Regions from separate parts of the Homo sapiens genome. Here region 1 is linked to region 2. Evidence: promoter capture Hi-C in 16 types of primary human blood cells and fetal thymus (Javierre and others, 2016). All regions are on one chromosome and are shown on one strand. Each heading gives the region's core, a stretch centred on a gene start or on the middle of the fragment in contact. The rest is flanking DNA. Distances are from core to core; before and after follow the strand shown.

Region 1 (3,516 bases), core at 337-2,836, 3.0 Mb after region 2:
AGAATACCTACCTAATAAAATAACTCTCAAATTCAATATTCTATAGAAATACAATCTACCAATCTGTTATAGAGGAGTTTTATCTCATGTAATATGCAGGAATTTGAAACCAAAAGTTGGTGCAACAATAGAAAATTTGAAAATAAATTCTGCAACTGTGCCATAACTTACTTTACATTCCTCTTTCCAGTCTCTAGATGTTGATATGCTAATGGAGATGTAATACAGTTACTGCTCTAATTTAAACCAGATACTTAAAATTGAAGAAGCTGCCTACTTGTTGAAGCTATTACCCTAATACTAGTAAAAATAATTGACCATTAGATCTAAAAGGGGCCTTGGATATTATCTGGTACATTTATCTCACAGATCAGTAAACAAATGAAACTTTATTCTAAAGTTCACAAAGACAATTAATTGCTAGGCCCGATTTTTAGTCCAGTCCTTTTCAAATGTGGTTTTGACTTGCATACGGACAAGGATGATGGTAAAAGACAGGAAACATTTCAAGTCCTAGGAGAAATGAGATTTTCTCCACTACTTTCTTTGCTCCCCACAGATTTAAGTAAGTTCTAAGAAGTCCCTACAGATGGGAGTAACTGAAGTGCTTCCTTTGCACGTTTTTGAGATTTGGAGAATTTAAGAGGTTCTAAGACCTATGTAAAATTTCAACTCAATTACATATTTTTTGGTTCATTATCTATCCACCAATTCTTCCTTCCATTTAAACCATTAGATCTGAAAAAGTCCTTAGAAACTGCCTAATAGTGGTAGATATTTCGTTTCACTGATCAAAAACCTGAGGCTCAAAAGCAAATGTAAATTTATATTTCATAAAAATCTTGGGGGAAAAGTCCTATCCTATCCCATTAGAGAGGGAGTAGTGCAGTTAGAAATACAACACCGAACTCCTGAAACCAAACATCAAGTATCCTTAAACAAGATAATAGAATTGTGATTTTTTTCTTTTCAACATGAAACTTCATACTATGCTGTATATCACATATAATTAAATTACACAATAATCACATACCGTATTAATAAGAGGTTAAGTGTAATATAATAAAATGGTCATCTCACAGCGCCAGACTGCCCTCTCTGTAAAACTGTGAGATGCTGAATACCTAGATATTTCGACCTTTTCTCTAACAAGTTATCCTCCAAGGCTACTTCATCGAGGCAAAAATACATTTTATTTATTATTAAAAATTCCAGTATATGTATGCTTAATTAATACTGAGTATTCCCCATTCTTGTTTCAAGTGATAGTCTTTGCTTATCCACATACCTAGGAGGCTGGGGAGGCTCCTTCAAGTCACTGGGTATGAGGTTATAAATGCACTCAGAAGAGCACGTTGGATCCATGGCCACCAAATGACTCCTTAAAAGCTACTCTCCACAACTTTTTTCTCCCTGTCCCAGTATCTCCGTCCCTTTCTTCACTGCTTCCCCTTTCTTTCTTCTTCGCCTTCTGAAGGACCACAGGTTCTCTCCTTCACATCGTCCCCCTTTAACCCCCTCTTAGCAGTCCTCTCTCGGGAAGAAAACACCCTATTTCTCTCCGGATTGCTAAGCGTCGTTGACTGTGCGGTTGCCGTGGAAACCGTTACTAGGCAACGAGGAAGTGGCAGGCAGCACCGCAAACTAGGTCTCCCCTCTTCCCTCTTTCTGCAGCGCCTTCTGCTAGAGAAGCTCATTTGGAAGCCACTGTTTTTACGTGCCTTTGAAAGTTAACGGGGTGAAAATGATGTCCCCTTAAAAACTGTGCTCTTTTCTATTTCTGTGTATCTGGGGAAAAAAGAAAAATCCTAGTAGAGACGGCAAAGCGCAGCTGGTGCGCAGGCGTCACCCAATAAGGTTTTTGTGAGCAGGCCCCAATCGCGGTGTGGGCGGAGCGAGCGGCTGAGACCACGAGGACGCAAGGCCAGCGCCGCCAGGGAGACGAGGGAGGGGAGGAGCCTGAGGAGATCGGAGTGCTCGGATAGGCTACAGTGAGAAAGGAGAGTCACGTGCCCTGCGCGAGGCCGCTCGGGGAAGGGCGTGGAGCGGAGGCACGCTGGCCGCCGCAGGCACAGGCGCAGAGTCCACTGCGCGGGGGCGGGACCGGGGAGCTAGCTGCAGGTACGGTGCTCCGTCTCCTGTGGAGGCTTTAGCGGCTCGTGGACACTGCTCCCCCATTTCCTTTCATTTCCCCCGTCTTCTCAGTGAGATTTCCTTGGTGAGTTATTGGAGGAGAAAGGAAGGAAAACTAGAAGCCAGCCCGCTCCCATCGCATGCCTTTCCCCGTACCGTCCCTTCCCCTTTCCGCTACTCGCTGGTCATCTCAACTCTGCGCGCATTTTTCCTGCTGCTTCTGGTCGAGGCTCCTCGGAACGCCGCGCAGCCCTGCCCGCCACGTGTGTGAGTGCGCGCACGGGGCCCGCGGCCTCCTCCGCCTGCTGCGCTCGCCCTCCCGCCCCTGCTCCCGGGACCGCCCCTTGGGCGGTCCTCCGGGTCGGCTCTGCGCCTGCTCTTCCCCGGGTCGGGACTCTTCCTCTAGGTCGTTCTCCAGGAACCAGTGGACCTGCTCTTTGTAAATGAGCAGCCTAAACTAAGAGGAGAAGCCTTTTAAGTGGGCCTTTACGTTTTTGTCCAGTTTTTGGTGTCCCTTGTTGGAAAATTGTCTTCTGAGAAGCGGTTTTATTCCTTTTTGTTCCACCTGGTCACCCGTAAATCTATGCACATGGGCCTGCCGTAGGAAAGTCATTTAGACGCTTTTACCCGAGTGTTTAAAAGACATTTTGGTAATAGGATTTGGGGAGGAAGATGGATGCCTCTGAACCACCGGTACAGAGGCCACTCTGCCCGAAGGAAATAAAGCTTCCCGGAGAGGAGAGAAAACACACTTGAGTCTGGGTTTCTCACTGCCTGGTTGGCTGGCGGAGTGATTAAAACAACACAATGGCCTGGTGAACCTTTTAGTTCCTGTATAAAAAGGCTTTACTGAATGTGTAGGTCCTTACTTTGGGCTCTTACTGAATTTCACTACATAAGAATACGTTAAGTTTTTCTTTTTTTTTTTTTTGTATACAGTTGATTTTAATTTTTGTCCCAGACGCTTAGGGAAAATTCTCCAGATTTCTTCACATCAGATTGTCTTCCAAAACATTTTAGATAGATGGATCTGTAGATCTATATTTAGATCTAGATCCAAATCTATATCACTTTGCCCCTTTCTTTTCGCCCTTGAGTATTTTATGTTTGGGATTTCTGTTTAGCAAGTATAGAGAAAAAATTTGGCGGGAAACCTCCTGTATGTACGAAGATTCGAACCAAGGACTCATGGAATGATAACGCCATTAGCCAAGTGGATAGTCACTGGCTAAAGCTTATGAATTTTCTAATTAGAAGGAACACCTTGAGACTATTTGTGTTAATCAGTTCCTGAAATAGCAAGTAAGGGCAAAACATGATTTCTGCAGTTAGCACCAACTGGCCTTTGGTAGCCTTGATGTTCTGGGGTTACTGAAATAAAAT
Region 2 (3,392 bases), core at 69-2,568:
TGCTGCTTCAAGAGTCTATAGCAATTTCTGGCTACATTTTTAATTAAGTTTATTCTGTGGCCTCTATTATCAAAGATGGCATACAAGAAATCATCTTATTTTTCAATCTTCCATAAATTTCCTATTGCTGACTTTGATAAACCCTGGGAATTGTATATAGTAACCACAAATCATGCCTAATACAGTGCCAAGACAACTGTAACTATGGTGGCTTGCATCTTCTTTAGGGTGGCCTTGGTACATATCTAAAGACAATGAAAACAAGTAGCCCCCTCAGTTTGGATGTATTTTTTTTAAAAAAAGGCCTTACTGTGTGGAGAAAATCAACAAATAATTATTTCCCTTGTGCATTTTATTTTAAGGCACAAAGAAAAATTATTTAGAAGAAGTATATGTTCAGGGGTACTCCAGAAGACAGTGAGCATGTTGAAAGTAGATAAGAATTATGATTTGGGCTTTAAGAATAAAATTTCCACTGAGTAGTATTATACAAAAACTTAACAGGTTGTTTCATAATCCCTATGGTTAGACACCATCAAACAGGCTAGAAGACCATCTGCTGGGAGTGCTACAGAAGAGACTCCTATATAAGGAAAGAGAAACTCGTGAGGTCTCCACCAACTTCAGGACTCTATTGTCAGTTTTAAAATTTTTGTTTTGTTGTTGTTTTTCCCTCAGCATAGAATGTTTAAGATCTTGGACACCAGTACAATTTCCTGGATGTACCAAGTCCATTTGAAATAACAGGAGCTAAGTATGTGTAAGAACTGTCAACAGTAAAATCTACTTCTTTTTCTCAGCTATTTATGAAATTACAAAAGGTAAAGGCAAAAAGATCGTTAATTAATCATTCAGTTCAAAGTAAAGGTGTACTCATTAGGAGTTATGAAAAGGTAGCAGAGGCAGCTAGTAAAAAAGGGTGATGTTAGAATCCCTGATTGGTATTATAAAGAGCCAACAGATTGGCACACAAATAGAAATGCACCTAGCAATCTCTATTCTAAATCATTTAATTAAAGATACTATAATAATCAAAATAGATGACAGGAAAGAATATAGTGAATATTTCATAGCTAGCAATATATAAGATGTATGAGTTTCAGAATAGGGAGAATGGGCACCCTGAAAGCTAAAACTACAAAATAGGAACTCCAGTGATTTCCTGGTCAAAATATCACTAACGACCTAATATACTGTTAATAAATAACACTTAAAGAATTATAAAATATAATAGATGAGCTAGCAAAAGTAAATGACCAACTTTAATTAAAGTGATTACCTGAAACCACCCTTAGCAGACAAGCCTATGCATGGAAGTTCAGACAACCAATGTTCCTAGAACAGCATGAACTTTATACCAATAGCCTTTACAGAACAAAGCATGGTCAAAATGTATACTATAGATAAGTAACTAGGAATATGATAGCTAGCACAATTGGAACAACCTAAAAACAAAACAACAAAAGCTACACTGGGTTTAAAAAAATACGAAAACTACAAACTATGTCCCTAACAAAATGGAAACAATAGTCAGTGAAAAACAATAATCAGTGATTTTATCCAAAAACATTTAGCTATATCTACACAATACAGAAATGTTAATTCCCTAAGGCTATCCAATGTATGCTATCCAATAAGCATTAGGCATATTTAAGCACTTAAAATGTGCCAGTACAAATGAGAAACCAAAATTTTAATTAATTTATATTTAAATTGAAAAACTGATATTCTACTGAGTTACTGGAAAGTTTTGCTTATAACGATTTGGGTACGTGAATGTACCTGTTAGCTATATGCCTTATGAAATCTCAATACAGATCAAGTATTTTCAATCAAAATTTGGCTTCCAAATTAAGGTGTGCTAGAAGTATAAATGTAAAACATACACGGATTTTGCTGACTTAGTACAAAAAATTAAAATGTGAAATACTTCATTAATAATTTTTGGCTGGACATGGTGGCTCACGCCTGTAATCCCAGCACTCTGGGAGGCCAAGGTTGGCGGATCGCCTGACATCAGGAGTTCGAGACCAGCCTGACCAATATGGTGAAACCCCGTCTCTACTAAAAATGCAAAAATTAGCTGGGTGTGGTGGCATGTGCCCGTAGTCCCAGTTACTTGGGAGGCTGAGACAGGAGAATTGCTTGAATCCGGGAGGCGGAGGTTGCAGTGATCTGAGATCGTGCCATCGCACACCAGCCTGGGCGACAGAACGAGACTCTGTCTCAAAAAATAATAGTAATTTTTGAAAATGTGACTCCATGTTGGAATAATATTTTAGTATATTGGGTTAAATAAAATACATTATCAAAATTAATTTCAGGCTGGGCATGGTGGTGCACTCCTGTAATCCTAGCTACTAGGGAGGCTGAGGCAGGAGAATCGCTTGAACCCAGGAGAACGAGGTTGCAGTGAGCAGAGATTGTGCCACTGCACTCCAGCCTGAGCAACAGAGCAAGACTCCATTTCAAAAAAAAAAAAATTAAGTTCATCTGTTTTTTACATTCTTAAATGTGACTTTTAGAAAATTTAACATCACCTCTGTGTTTTGTATCACATATCTATTGCACAGTGCTGCTCTAAGGGATCAATGGCTTGAAAAAGTGTGTCAGCTGTCAAAAATCTGAAATATCTGTCAGTCATGATTTATATGTAAAATATTATCTTATCCCTTAGTGTCACAAAATATTTCTTTAGGCTACCCAGAATTTGAATATTTATACATTTCAAAGTCATCTGTATCCTCTTCATACAGTGGATCGTTACAGATCATTAAAGTATTACTCTGGAGTTATTGTAAACTTTGGTAACATTTAATGGCCATTCTGACATCCAGGCTAAGTAATCAAGTAAAGAATGCTAATTAATCAAAGACTTATTGATTTCGTCTCTATCTAAATTCCCTCGGCCATACTTTAACAATACTTTTGTTTCTACGAGAGCTAAACAAGGATCTTTAGTATAGGAAACATTTTGATAAGAATCATTTTATAAAACAATTTTATGTTTACATATATACTTTTATATTTACCATATATATATACTTTACAAGCTGAACATTTTATACTCATAAATTTATATACTCAGCCTATACACTCATAAATTTATAAATATATTTACTATACACACATAAGTATATAAATGCATACGCACACACACCTGCACCCTCTCGCTCATAAATTTTCCCCTGGAAGAAAAGCATCAGAACTGCATGCCTTAGCAGTGCTTTCCCAACCTCTTTCATACCATGGCACGTTACAGAAAATTGTATTTGTAAGACACACTGGAGGAAACTGTTAAGGCTGCTCAAGGCAGGGCATCACTATCTCAGCATGCTTGCAGCACACCAATTGGGAAGCTCGGTCTTAAAAGGCCCTGCAAAATACTGCAA

The links. The method cuts DNA at HindIII sites, captures the fragments that hold promoters and counts their contacts. A CHiCAGO score of 5 or more calls a contact.
Region 1: a contact is called between the fragment with the promoter of ENKUR here and a fragment that was not itself captured in region 2, in 1 of 17 cell types (total CD8 T cells). The highest score is 5.5, in total CD8 T cells.

The regions. Positions count from the first base shown.
Region 1 is chr10:25,014,572-25,018,087 of GRCh38, forward strand. It overlaps ENKUR (enkurin, TRPC channel interacting protein), which reads right to left and starts at 1,587. Exons shown (of 6, transcript NM_145010.4): 1 at 1,289-1,587. The coding sequence starts at 1,365. It overlaps THNSL1 (threonine synthase like 1), which reads left to right and starts at 2,041. Exons shown (of 3, transcript NM_024838.5): 1 at 2,041-2,121. RefSeq lists silencers at 1,593-1,642, 1,973-2,172, 2,353-2,432 and enhancers at 1,716-2,478, 1,789-2,083, 2,683-2,762. The HindIII fragment of the contact is 2,880 bases long and covers 1-2,857 here.
Region 2 is chr10:21,990,083-21,993,474 of GRCh38, forward strand. All of the region lies in intron 1 of DNAJC1 (DnaJ heat shock protein family (Hsp40) member C1), which reads right to left. Among named protein-coding and RNA genes, the nearest start is that of DNAJC1, 12 kb to the right of the region's middle. The HindIII fragment of the contact is 5,693 bases long and covers 1-3,392 here.